Linked DNA regions of Homo sapiens: region 2 is linked to region 1. The links are contacts of gene promoters, found by promoter capture Hi-C in human tissues and cell types (Jung and others, 2019). All regions are on one chromosome and are shown on one strand. Each heading gives the region's core, a stretch centred on a gene start or on the middle of the fragment in contact. The rest is flanking DNA. Distances are from core to core; before and after follow the strand shown. Region 1 holds the start of GNB4 (G protein subunit beta 4). Region 2 overlaps PEX5L (peroxisomal biogenesis factor 5 like).

What was found. Contacts are between HindIII fragments. The study calls those that stand out against the background at their distance.
Region 2: a fragment that was not itself captured here is called in contact with the fragment with the promoter of GNB4 in region 1 in 1 of the 25 tissues and cell types used here (hippocampus).

Annotation. Positions count from the first base shown.
Region 1 is chr3:179,449,421-179,456,541 of GRCh38, reverse strand. GNB4 (G protein subunit beta 4) reads left to right here and starts at 5,072. Exons shown (of 10, transcript NM_021629.4): 1 at 5,072-5,196. It also overlaps the pseudogene RPL29P34. RefSeq lists silencers at 4,902-5,051, 5,092-5,501. The HindIII fragment of the contact is 18,692 bases long and covers 2,013-7,121 here.
Region 2 is chr3:179,966,615-179,972,860 of GRCh38, reverse strand. PEX5L (peroxisomal biogenesis factor 5 like) reads left to right here. Exons shown (of 15, transcript NM_016559.3): 2 at 1,196-1,267. The region is part of intron 1 of LOC124909463 (a long non-coding RNA gene); the gene reads right to left. Among named protein-coding and RNA genes, the nearest start is that of PEX5L, 67 kb to the left of the region's middle. The HindIII fragment of the contact is 3,312 bases long and covers 519-3,830 here.

The sequences.
Region 1 (7,121 bases), core at 3,823-6,322:
AATTTGTAAGGAAAACAAGATGTTTTCCATTGTTTGAAATATCTAACAGAACATATTAGCGTAAATGAAATCAATACTCTATGGGAGGAAGGAATGGAAAGACAGAATCTTAGATTGTTGGATTCTCATAGATTATTAATCCAGGGTTAGCAAATGTGCTTGTGGCAGATTATATTTCTGAAGTTAGCTGCAATGATATGTGGCATTCAACATGTTCCTCTAGATAAGTCTATCCAGCCTGGGGAACATGGTGAAACCCCGCCTCTACAAAAATACAAAAAAATTAGCTGTATGTGGTGGCACATGCCTATAATCCCACCTACTCAGGAGGCTCGAGAATCACCTGAGGTTGCAATGAGCTGAGATTGCGCCACTGCGCTCCACCCTCAGTGACGGAGCGAGATCTTGTCTAAAAAAAAAAAAAAAAAAAAAAAGTCTATGTCCCTATTACATGAATTTGTGACTGCCTAGACCAAGTGAGGATAGTGGAAGCAACACTATGTGATTGCTGAGGCTAAGTCATAAAAATGCTATGCATTTCCTCCTTGTTCTCTTGGAACACTTGCTCTTAGAACCCAGCCACTCTAATGCAAGGAATTCCAAGTAGCCCGTGGAAAGCCCTACGTGAAAAGGAACTGAAGTTTCTGCCCACACACCTGGCTGATCTTCCAGCTAGCAGCCAGCACCAACTTGCCAGCCATGTGAGAGTGCCATCTTAATAAGAGTCAAACTATCTGAGCCAGCATGGAACAGAGAACACGTCTGCCAAGCCCTGCCCATGTTGGAAATTCATGAACAAATTAAATAATTGTTGTTGTCCTAATCCACTAAGTTTGGTGACTTGAATAGAGCAATAGATAACTAATATGTCATCTCATTTTTAAACTCATGTTTTTACTCACTTAACAGAAACAGATCAGAGTTCCTTTTGAAAATGTGGTGTTCAGAAGAGTTCTTGGGATGAAATGAAGCTTACAGGGCAAGAGTCCACGATTGATTAGTGAAGTCATCCCCGGACATAGTCTGAGAGATGGCACCAGTGTTGTCTATTTGTCAATCGTATTAGAATTCAGCACCTTCATTTTATATAATTAAGACAGAATGCTGGCAGGGTAAGATCTGCTTAAGATCACACAGACATTTAATACCAGAGCCAAAGCTCTAAATCAAGTCTTCTGATGTGCAGTTTAGTGTTTTTTCACTTTGACATGTCCCTTTCCGGGGACCTGAATTCCCTGATTTCCCTGAATTCCCTGATTCCAGGGACCTGAATGACAGGACATAGAGCAGCAGATATATGCCTGCATGCTTCTAGTTCCCTCTCCCATGCCTGTGACAGATATCATTGACCCTCTCTTAAGGTCACTGGGATGCACTTGGATGACAGATTCCAAATTCCCATGGTTAACGAGAACCTGAGTGGAAATAAACAAAAGCTATAACTGATTTGTACCACCAGTGTCAGAGGAGTACAGCAAAGGTGACTCAAAGTACAAACTGTACTTTGATATGGAAAATGCATTGTGTGTGAGCAAGAGGGAAGGCTTTAGGCATGACTACTCTGTATCAAGGATGTCTGTCTGAAACCACACATAGACTGACTTCTTACAGAATCTACTAGGGAATTGCTTCTCATGTCCTTGGGAAACTGTGCTGTAGATCCTGTTAGATAATTTCCATTTAATATTTTATAACTTATTTTGTTGTGGGTGAAATAAAATCTGTTACGGTAGTTGTGATGTTGTATGTATATAATTTGGCCTCATTTCAAACACAATAGAATTGGAATGCATACAACACATACAGGGCGGTACTGAAATATTGTACACTTTAATAGCTGTGTTCTTCACGGTGTGCTTGGCATCGTCTGAGAGCAAGGTAGGCTCAGAAAAAAATATAGACCATTTCTAGGGTAAAACTTAAAAGCAGGATATACAAACCTATGGCACTATGGATTACAGGGTAGCTCACTGAGTACAGCATTCAGATTCATCCAATGTAGGACCAAGAGCAGAGCTTCTCTGAACTTGATCATAGTGAAGCAAAACACCCTGCAAAAGAAACTGTAACTAAACTCCTAGAAAAGCAATGACCACTTTCTCCTCTCCTATGATTCTGACTAGCGTGTGGGATGGGGTGAGGTATGCAGGTTATTTGCATAAAACAAGCAGCCAAGTGCATTCACTCATTTATTTGTTCGTGGAGTACCTAGCAAATGCAAGGTGCTCTGTTAAACACTATGGCAGACACAAAGATGAAACGGACAAGGATTTTGTCTTCAAAGGTTCTCTAGTAGGGACCCCACTATGCTCTCTTAATAGAGTAGGATTTGAGAACATGGGCCTAATGAGTTAGAAATCTAATTATCAGCCAGTGGCACCCAAACAAAAGATCATGGGGCTTAATCCTCAGAAGTAGGATACATCTCTACAATTGTCTACACAAACCAGCAGGCATCAGAAATGTTAATAGCATACCCCTTCACCTTTCTCTCTGCCTCCCTTCCCAGTCTCTCTCTTTTGTTCTTCGTGGATTTCATTATCATTGGAAAAATCATGAATTGCTGGATCACTTAGATGCATTAGTGTGCTCTTATGAAATCATTCCTGATGACAAAATTCTTTTAATCAGCTCCACTTTCAGATTTTCAGTATAGGCTTGTCCTTTAACAAGTAAGTTTTTTTTTTTTTTTCCAGAACAATATGGAGCAGGTATGGCAAAACAGAAATACAATATTCTTGGAAGTAGATTCGTTTGGATAATAATTAAACTTTCCTTTTTCTGTACTTGGACTTTATTCTTCTAGTAATTTCTTTGTCTACATTAAATTTTCAGGAAGATTGACGATATCATTCTTTTAAACTCTTTAAAAGACAGTCAAATTCTTGTTACATCTTTTCAGGTTTTGTATTTTATGTTTAGGAGCTGTTCATTTATATTTCCCCTCATCTTTTCTGGAATAGACTATCTCATTGCTTCCCACTGTGTTTTCCTAAATACCAGCAACTTGTTTTTCAACAAATAATCTTAACCCAACAACCAGCTCTCAAAGCTTTATAACATCTGGTAAATGCTAGTGCACAGGAACAAGGCAGAAAAGAATCTAAAGAAAGAATATGGGGCCGGGATCGGTGGCTCACGCCTGTAATTCCAGCACTTTGGGAGGCCGAGGTGGGCGGATCACCTGAGGTCAGCAGATTGAGACCAGCCTGGTCAACACGGTGAAACCCCGTGTCTACTAAAAATACAAAAAATCAGCCGGGCGTGGTGGCTTGTGCCTGTAATCCCAGACTTGGGAGGCTGAGACACGAGAATCGCTTGAATCCTGGAGGTGGAGGTTGCAGTGAGCTGACATCACATCACTGCACAGTGACTCCGTCTCAAAACAAAAAAACAAACAAAAAAAAGAAAGAATGTGGGCTTTGGAGTTGATCCAATCTGATGTCATGCAGGGCTCTACCAATACCTTCGTGACTCCGATAAATTAATCTTACCAGGGCATCAGTTTGCTTATCTGTAAAATGGGGATAAAATTCACACTTCAAGGTAATTATGAGGATTAAGTACAGTATAAGAAAGCAGAGAGCATGGTCCGTAATAGGCACTCTTTAACAATTTCCCTTTGCTTCCTCCGAAAAACGACAATCATAAAACTCAGGATTTAATCATTAAAACATAAATAGTTACAGATGCAAAACACTCATGTCCCAACGAGCTCTTCTGACACTTTGATATGCAGAATATTTGGCATTTCTTTCTTCTTAATGGAAAAATGCTCCTAATATTAGTAAAAATGAAAATTTTGGGGGAAAAATTATCCACAGTTTCTTTATCTGTGGATAAAGAAAATAGAAACAGCTGCTTCTATTTTTGTCACGGCCTGGCTTTTATACAAAACGGTCACATTTTCCCCACAGTCACAAACAGGGTGTGTTTATCATGGCATCACCTCTTTCAAGGGACTAATAGATTTATTCCAGGTGATAGTGGGAAGCAGCTACAGAAGGAGGATTGGAAGGCTGAGGGGTTGTTAAAGTTATCTGATGATATTGTTCGAACATTTCTCCGGCACAGAAACTCCACAAAGAACTCCTCTGCAGTTTTCGCTACCCAGGGCTGTTTCTTTAAATTGTTTGACGTCAGAGAAGGAATGCTATAGCAACAGTCTGTCAAACTGGAATTAACTCAGAAGAAAAATGGGGGTGGGGAGAGGAAAAATGCTCCCAGGCGGTACTGACTTCAGAGGAAGCAAATTGGATAGATGCATTTATTTTATGACATTTTAAACATAAAACACCCAGATAAATGTGAAAAAAAAAAAAACTCGATTGAGATGCATGTGGTGTTTAACTCATGCAGAGAAGAGCGACTTGGCAGGGATATCTGGAAGGCCTTCCAGTTTTATCAATGACAATAGGAACAATAACTTCCAAGTATTGGCCATTTATTTGGAGGCAGGCTTCGTGCAAACATCACTTCATTTAATATGCTTAGCACCTTTATGAGGCAGGTATCAGTATCTTTATTTTGGCGATGACGAAACTTAGGCCCGAGACGGTACACGGTCCTACAACTAGTGATGGAAGAGCGGGGACTGCAACGCAAGGTTGTGCAACTCTGGGCTTCAGTTTACTTTCTGACATTTAGAATTCCAGAATGGGAAACCTAAATGGGGCCTTTGGGGTCTTCTAGCTCTGCCCTTCGATCCTGCTAACAAGCAAACTGGCGCCTGTCAGCGCCGGAAAGGAAACTGGCCACGCCACTTAGACGGGCGCTACTTAGCAGCGTGCCCCGGCGCCACACCAACAAGAAAACGAAACTGCCCGGGAATGAATGTTTTTCTTCTCCTTCTGGCAGGAAACGAGAGAGAAAATAGGAAGCAGAAGCTGCGCGCGGCGCCCGCTCCCTTCGCCCCCCGCCCGGGCTGCGCGCGCTCCGAGGGTCTGCGCGTCCCCGGCACGTCCCCGCCGGGCCCGCGCGCCTCGTGCCTCGCGCCTCGCGCCTCCAGCCACGTCCCCGCCCCGGCTCCGGCGCGCCGCGGAGTTGGCTGCTGGGAGGTGCGGGACTGGGTGTGGCCGGCGGCTCTGGTCTCGGCTGTGAGCTGCGCTCTCCACGCCGGCTCCGCGCTCCAGGGGCTGCTGAGCGCCCAGCGGACACCGGCAGCGCGCGGTCGACGCGGGCCTGAGCTCCCTCCAGGTAGGCGGCGAGCTCGCGAGCGGCGGCTCGTCGGTGCGCCCCGCGAAGCGATCCCGGGCTTCTCGCAGGGACGTGGGGCGCCGCGAGCCACCCCTGCGGAACGGGGCCCGGGTGACGGCGCGGGGCGGGGCGGGTCTCCCCGGGCTCGGGCGGCCGACGCTGCCCGGGAGGGACGAGGAGGGCGCGCCTGTGTCGCGCCCAGCTGCCACGCGGGAACTGGCCCCACGACCGCCGGCGCAGGCACTTCCCGGGCGGTCCAGACCGCTCGCCCCGGGGAGCGAGGAACGGTCGGCGGTCCAAGTCCTGCAGACCCCCCTGGTTTCTCGTCACTCCCCGAGGCCTCCTTCCAGGAACTCAGAGCACGAGCCCGTGCGTGCCCCCAAAATAACGGGTATTCGGGACTGCCCAGCAGGGCTGTTGGGTGGAGAGTGCTTGGAAGACTCATAAAAGTTCTACGCTGAGTCCAAAATTAGTCCAATGGTTTTGTTTCAGATTTATTTTGGAAATGATATAATGTCCAGAGTTTGGGGATGGGAGGGGATTGATGAATTTTGAATACTTGTGAGTTCAGTACAATAAAAAGTGTTTTGCTTTTCTCTCCACCTTTTTCTGCTTCAGAACACAGATGATTGCCATATACTTTGATATGTATTGCTATTCGCTAAGGGAACGTTGAATTTTCAAAAGTTTGAAACCAGGCTTTCATTTGTTTATACAAGCAATACTTTGTTATTTTTCGTCTCCTTGTGTTCCCTTTTCTCCCACTCCTTCCCTTTCTCTTTCCATAAAGGATAAGGATGCATCTTTCTCCCTCTCAGCCACCGACAAAGTAGCTTGGCGTGTGGCTTAGCGGGAAGTTTTCTTAAAACGTTCAAAATTTAATTGTTGATTAGAACTTTTATTATGAGTCCGTCTCAGTGTTGCAAACAGAGTTTATGACCATTAAGTACATCTTCTAGGACAGAGACAGAACACACGCTACTTAATTTAAGATGGGAGGGAAGTTATTTCTAGTCGGAGAGGAGGACGGCTGATTAGGTGCATTCAAAATTGTGTGCTTCGAGTCTCTGCCATTGTTCATTTTAATACTCTTCAGTTTGGGGCTTTTGGTTTACTACTGATCCTAGGCTCTGAAAATTTACTGTATATTTCAGTATGTGGCTTAAAGACATTTTAAGATTTTCCATGTTGCATTTTGGTTTGTAGATGAATTTGAAACTGAAATAGAAACTTTTAAAATATCATCTTATTGAACGTTGTCAACCCTCTGTATATACATTTATAAAACTGATTGATACAGCTTGTGATATTTTAGGTTGGTTCAACTCTTTGTGGGCCCATAAACATTATTTAGGAAGTTATTCCGAGTCTTTGGCCTTTGTTAACCTGTAGAATTGTTTCTTTTAAACAATTGGCATGTAAGTATGTCAGCACATACTTTTACACTTTAAAAATAGACTCTGGGGCAATTTGAAAATTAAGAATTGGAACTAAGTGTTGGACATTCTTCTGGCCTTACCAAATACTGCCTGAGATGGTGTGATTTCTCTTAGGCATGTTATTGAAGTCAGCTGGCTGTATCATCAGTTTCTTTACCTTGCTGACTATTTTAATCTGCGTCTGTTATGGACTTATTTATTAAAATATCTCTTCTGGGCTGGGGCAGTGCTGTAAGTTATTCTACTTATATCTCACAGTAACACCATTATCTACTTCCACAGGTAAGGAAATTGTCTGTGAGGTTTTAAGTAACTTGGCAGTGGTCATGTAGGTGTTAGGTAACTCAACTGGGATTCGAAGCAAGACCCCTCTGTTTCCAAAGTCCATGTTCTTTCCCCTGAGCCATATTAACTTAGTTCGAGGGCATGAGGAGTGACCCTCAATTACTCATTAGCATGTGTGTAAAATATCCAAGACATGCCAGA
Region 2 (6,246 bases), core at 925-3,424, 520 kb before region 1:
TACTTGGAAGATGCAGAAATCTCTTTATTACAGTAAAAAAAAAACCCACAAAAATTGGAGATATGTTTTTGCGGGAAAAAAATGTGTAAATCTGGTTTTTGAATGTTATGGGGAAAAAATAAGAATTGTGCTCACAGTGTGAAGATTTATATCATGTTCACTGAAGGATATATCTCTTCCCTGAATGAGATGAGGACCCTAATATGACACAGTAGATGCAAACATAAGTATTTTTAATTCCCTTAATTCAAGTTGATGTAGTTAATAACTAAAGCAAGAATCTTTAAAATAAATAAATAACCTTGAACTACAGCTAACTATGTAGTGGTTTTTATTTTTCATTTGTTGCTGGTATGAAGACACAACATGACATTTCTAGTATTCTCATCAACCGTTGCGTTGGGAGAAAAAAAGGCTCAGACATATTATCTTTCTGCTGTAGCACAAGTGTAAAATGATTATCATTATCTATGTCCTTTTCTAACTTTAGAATTTATAGATTTTGCAATGGAGGAAATAGATGGAGAGTGGTCATTGGGACAAAATAAATGATGACAAAATGCCAAAAAAAAAAAAGTGCATTTACATAAACTCTTAAAATAGTCTGTCCTCCAACTTTTCGAATACCTAATTTTGTAAATTATTTTAGTTATCTCTTTAAAATTATTTCTGAGTTGGTTTTTCCAATGTCAGTATTCATCTGACTTGTGAGCAAATGTTGAAAATCTGAAGATTCATTATCTGAGTTGCATAATACTTCTATTATTCTTAAAAATATGTAAGACATTAAAACAAAACATTGAATAGTTGGAAGTCTTGAGTATAAAGCTAAATGAACTTTCAATCTTTAAGAAAAATGTGCTAAGGCTCTTCAAAGAATTGCTTATTTATCCCAAAGTGTTAAAGAATCTTTTCTGATACTATAGAACTAAAAAGAGAAGCATAAGAATATTGAGAAAAAGATTAAAGGTATAAGTTGGGTAGTGGAGGCTAAGCAGATATTGTTAATGAATAATTATAAGACAGCAGTTTAACAATAAAAACATTTGCTGTTGTACATGAGCAATTTATATAAAGAATGATGCATTATGACTGGTGAACAAGGCTAAGACTTTTATCTTTAAAAATATTAAGTAGAATTAAGATTGTTAATGGATAGAAACTAAATGATCATTTAAAATTATTCTTTCACAAGAAAAGTAAAGAACAAGGATATGGAAAACTAAGCAGTGATGAAGACCTCGAAATAATTGTTGATCAAAAGCAGGTAAGTGAATACTTACGTACATTTTCTACTGTTCTACTGTATATTTTGATGACTAAAGCCTTTTGAGTGTTCAGCCCTTCTCTGGCAGCTGTATTAGCCTGTCTGACTAAAGCCTGCATAACAAGATTTTGAGAGCAGCTAAGCCGCTCCATATGATGCCTCTGATCCACTGACTTTTGCATGATGCCAACATGCATATTTTGTATGTAAGAATGATGGAAATAAAGCTAGAACAAAAGAACTTTTGGAAAATTAAAGGCATCTCTTGATAAAATGAGTCAAAACACCAATGATAATCTGGGAAAAAGATAAACAAGAACAATAAAATATATTATCTTGAAAATGAGAAACACTGCCATTATTCTATCTTGTAAAACAATGGATATAATTGAGAGAGAGAAAGAGAGAAAACTGAAAACCTTAAGACATATATATTGCCCAATTTAATTTTCCAGATTGTCTGCAATATATATAAAGATGATTCTGAAAACAAAAAGAAGAGGCTATTTAATAAAATCTGTAGTACCACCTGTAATTTGAGAAACCACTAGCTTGGATGTTATATGGGCCCATAAGGTGAAATGAAAACTGCTTAATAGAGCATAAACAATGACATACCAGGTAATGGAAGGTTTCCAGCCCATGCCACTGAATTGGTACTAGCCCTTAACATCTCTGTTAATTATCAAGGAGACAAGATAACTGCACATTTATTTAATGCCTGGGTGGCACAGCATCTGAGAGCGACGCAAAAGCTGTAGAGAGAGAAATAATTCAAAGAGATCTGAGTAGATTAAGAGATTAGAGAGAAAGCAGTCAGTAATTTACAGAAAGGCACCTGAATTTGCTCAATTTCCTAATCATGCAGTTTGTTTTGCATCATAACAGTTGCATTCAGGGAGCTGTTGTACATATTTCTGAAAAAAGGAAAAATGACCATCAGAAGGTAGCAACCAGAAATAACTGACTTAGAGACTTGCTTGTTAGTCTTGGAATAACTGAGGTAACTGAGGTGGTCTTCTGGAAAAACTTGCCAAAACATCTCTCTACCGAGGTGCAGAATATATTGATTTTACAGCATTCACTCAAAATGCTTCCGAGTTTTTCTTATCATTGCTCTCCTGCTCCTGGGTAAAACAGGGTAGGGGATGTGTGGAGTGCCAAGTTATCAGTTTAGTTAATAAGGTGGGTGGAACTGTAGCCCATGTGATCTACTGGGCTATTAACTATCACTTTATGCCAGATTAAATACTTGGGGCATGCAGTCTATGTCTGATCCCACCCATAGACTGGGATTCTGATCAAAGGACTGGACCCACCTGGCAAATGAACTAGTAAAATACACCTGGGTATATTATGAGAATACAGATATGTGTACATTTCTCTAATAAAATGAAAAATTAGTTATTTTCTTCCTTAATCATATAGAAGTTAAATTCTTTTTTTCTTCTTATTTACTATCTTCCTACCCCAAAGCTTTTCTTTTCTTTCTTTCTTTTTTGCCTAAATCTTTGCATTTTAACTGAGTTTTGGTGTTCAGAAAACTGCAAAGTTATATTTTGAGATCCTTGTGGTGAAAAGCCAAAGGAAGCCATTGTTCTTTTTTTCTCATGATACCTTTGACAAAATTTCTATTGTTGTGACTAAACACATTTTACTAATTGTTAAGGAATCTTAAAGAAAAAAGAGAAAAAATAAGAGAACAAAACCTTCCTGCTTCTTCAGAAAATAGCACTTTTATTACCTGGATCAAATGAGGGTGGATTCAATTTTCTCAGAGTCGCTGTTTGCCTCTGTAGTTATCACATTTCTTCCAGTGCCATTGCACAAGTTGGTACTGTTTGGCAGTGACTCAGCTTTGCTGAGTTATTCATGTCAAAACATGTTTCAAAAGATGAGTAATTATGAATATGAGTTGGCTTTGGTGTTTGCTGTTGGCAGAAAGAGTAGTCCTTCCTTTTTTTGAAAGATTTATTTGGTGTTGATGTTGTGAGCAAATCCTAGGTTGAAACAACGACAATGTTGATATCTCAAAGTAAAATATTTGGGGAAACACTGTAATTGGTCTTTATAAAGCTATAAGAAATTATCCCAAAGTTTAAGAGGTCAACAAATTAAGCATGTGTGTATGTATATGTACATTTGTTTTCCAGAAAATGAATATTGCCTCATCTCGTAGATATGAGTTATACATATATGATGACATTATACATATATATGTATTTTATATGTATAATAAAATTAAAACTCTATAGCATTATATGCCATTTTGTCAGGAATCTTTATTTTCAGTTTATTCTTCCTATATCTTTTCAAAAACATGGTAGAAATATGTTATAGTTAATCTTCATGTAACTGCAAGTAGATTTTTCAGTAAGTGGTGCCAAAAGAAAATCTAAAGAGGATAAATAAAATAATTGGAATGCTGCAATGGGCAGAAGTCTCCTAATTTCTTTAAATCTGTCATTCAGAAGCTGTCACTCTACAAATGCTGTGTATGCTATATGCCATTTTATCAGTCATGTGATTTGCAAATCTTGTACTTCCACGGAAAGCCTACAGTCTTGCTTATATAAGCAAATTAATAACAGAAGCAGCACCATGTATGTGGATTTTGTTCTCCCTGGCTGCCTTCTCTCAAGGAGGTAAAAGATGATTTCTGTGTTATTTCAACATGGAAAAAAAAGTGTATTTCGGAAATGTGTAAGGTTCTATTCTTTAAAGACAATGTTGTGTTTCTCTCTTTGTGAAATTGTATTGACAAAATTTATTTGGGATATGTATAAAAACATTTCAGAGAACACTTAAATGAGTGTTGATGTCTTATGGTAATAGGTGCCATATGATACACAGACACACAGACACACACAGACACACACACACACACACACACACAGTCATTTAAATAGAAATGTATCACACTGGGGTCAGAGTCCATATTTTCCACCAGAAATCTCCAAGGTTTTCAAACTTTAAGCGTAGAAGGTAATCAAAGGGAATGTATTGGATTAAAATCTTAATGCCTCCAAAACCCAAACATTTGACATAAAAATAATATAACTAATTAGTAAATGCTATATTTGTCTTTGTAAAATAAATATTAAAAGATAAATTTTAAACATCTATTATGGCATATTTTTATTATTTGTGAAGCTATTCCTTCCTAAATGGAGGAAAGGAGGGTCTTGTTTAGGTTTCATGTACACATTAATTTCCTTCTGGAGTTACTGATATTTCAAGTGTGGGAGTAGATAGTCAAGTGCCTTGACTTAAGGGATTAAAAACATTAACCACTTTTAGTGAATTCATTCTATTATAAATTACTATTTTTAGTTAGAGCCAACTTAACTCAAGGTTTATGATAAGCTGGACCTAGATAACAATTTTTTAAAATGTTTTCAAATTCCAAGTAGACTTAAAAGAGGTAACAAAGACTAATAAATTTATAGACTATTTTGATTATATGATGGATACAGTTACAGGTTCATGTATTGTAAAAATGGGTTTAACAGCATGTTGTGGATTTATTGGGTTATAGGACTCAAAGTTGCAGTTTCATAGCCTTTAGTGCAAGCAGGTTGGGAAATGTCAAATTTCAGCCAGTTACAAGGGGAACAAGTATATCCAGGTCAGAGCAATAGTTCTCAAGCTTTAGCTGTTTCAGCATCCCCAGGAGGGCTTGATATAACATAGATTACTGGATCCCACCCCCGGGGTTTCTTATTCTTCAGGTCTGAGATGCGTGCAGCCTGACAATTTGCATTTCTAAGTATTCAGCTACTGCTGCTGGTTCCAGACCACACTTTATGAATCACCGGGTCAGAGAAAACAACTAATGCAGTTTTAAAGGAGGAAAAAATATGTAACTTGTGATAAATTTAACATTCTTCAACCTGGCATTTACCCAGGGATCTAAAAACTGGAATTCATCAGCATTTAACGTAATAACAAGACCAGAAAACAAGAAAACCACAGCCATTTACAACCAAAGGTACCTTTAAAGAACCAGGTTTGCAGTCTGGCTAAATCCACATGGAAATCTGGTAATCTTGAACCTCTCTAAGCTCAGTTTTCTCATTTTCAAATAAGTTTTCTGATATTATTTGTAAAATGATACTGTGCTTTTCCCACCTCCTAGAGTTTCTCTGAGTTAAAATATGTAAAAGTGCTCTATAAAGTGTATAACATTTATGTCATTTTAATTAGCTAGGCATCACCACTTCACTCTCCACCTCCCTTCATCCCCAGTTTAGCAAATGAGAACTTTGAGATCCAGAAAAGTGAATTAAGTTGCCCAACTCCCTGATTAGGTGCAGAAGAGCCCTAGAAGCCAGCTCTCCCTCCTGCCATCCAGTCCCATGCTCTTTCTGTCACCTCACATAGCTCTGTACCATTGCTCATTACTGATCATGCTATGAATGGATTAAGAAGCTGTTTTGCCTCAGTGCTCTAATTGTATAAAATAACCATCTACTAGGAATTATCGTAATTGGTCAACATTTATTTATTGAACCCTCACAGGAATAAACTTCCCTACAAACACTCCTTAACTGTTTACTTCCCTCTTGAGCCCTATGGCTTTGTCAGGAGATAAATGCCCCTTAAAGCAAATGTAAATAAAACTAGAGCTAAAAGTAGTTATGAAGACCGCTTGCCTTTCCTCTCACAACCTCCTCAAGGAGAACGTCTACCAGGCATGAGAAGGGGCCCTGGGAAGAGACAACACATACTCATCTTAGCTTACAGCCTTTTTGAGAGTCTCATTTTCACCTTGTAAAGGAAGCCTGAGCAGAAAGCAACGGACACTAGAACTTCTGTGATCTTTTTCTAAAGAAAAAGAAGAGATAAATTATAACCTCACCCTTGTGTCTCCAATAGCTCATAAGCATTCAAGTTGGATTGCAATTCTGTCCTAGTGGTTGTTGTGAAAATGGATCCTCAAGAGGAAAATATAGGCCAACATGAAATTAAAATGGAAG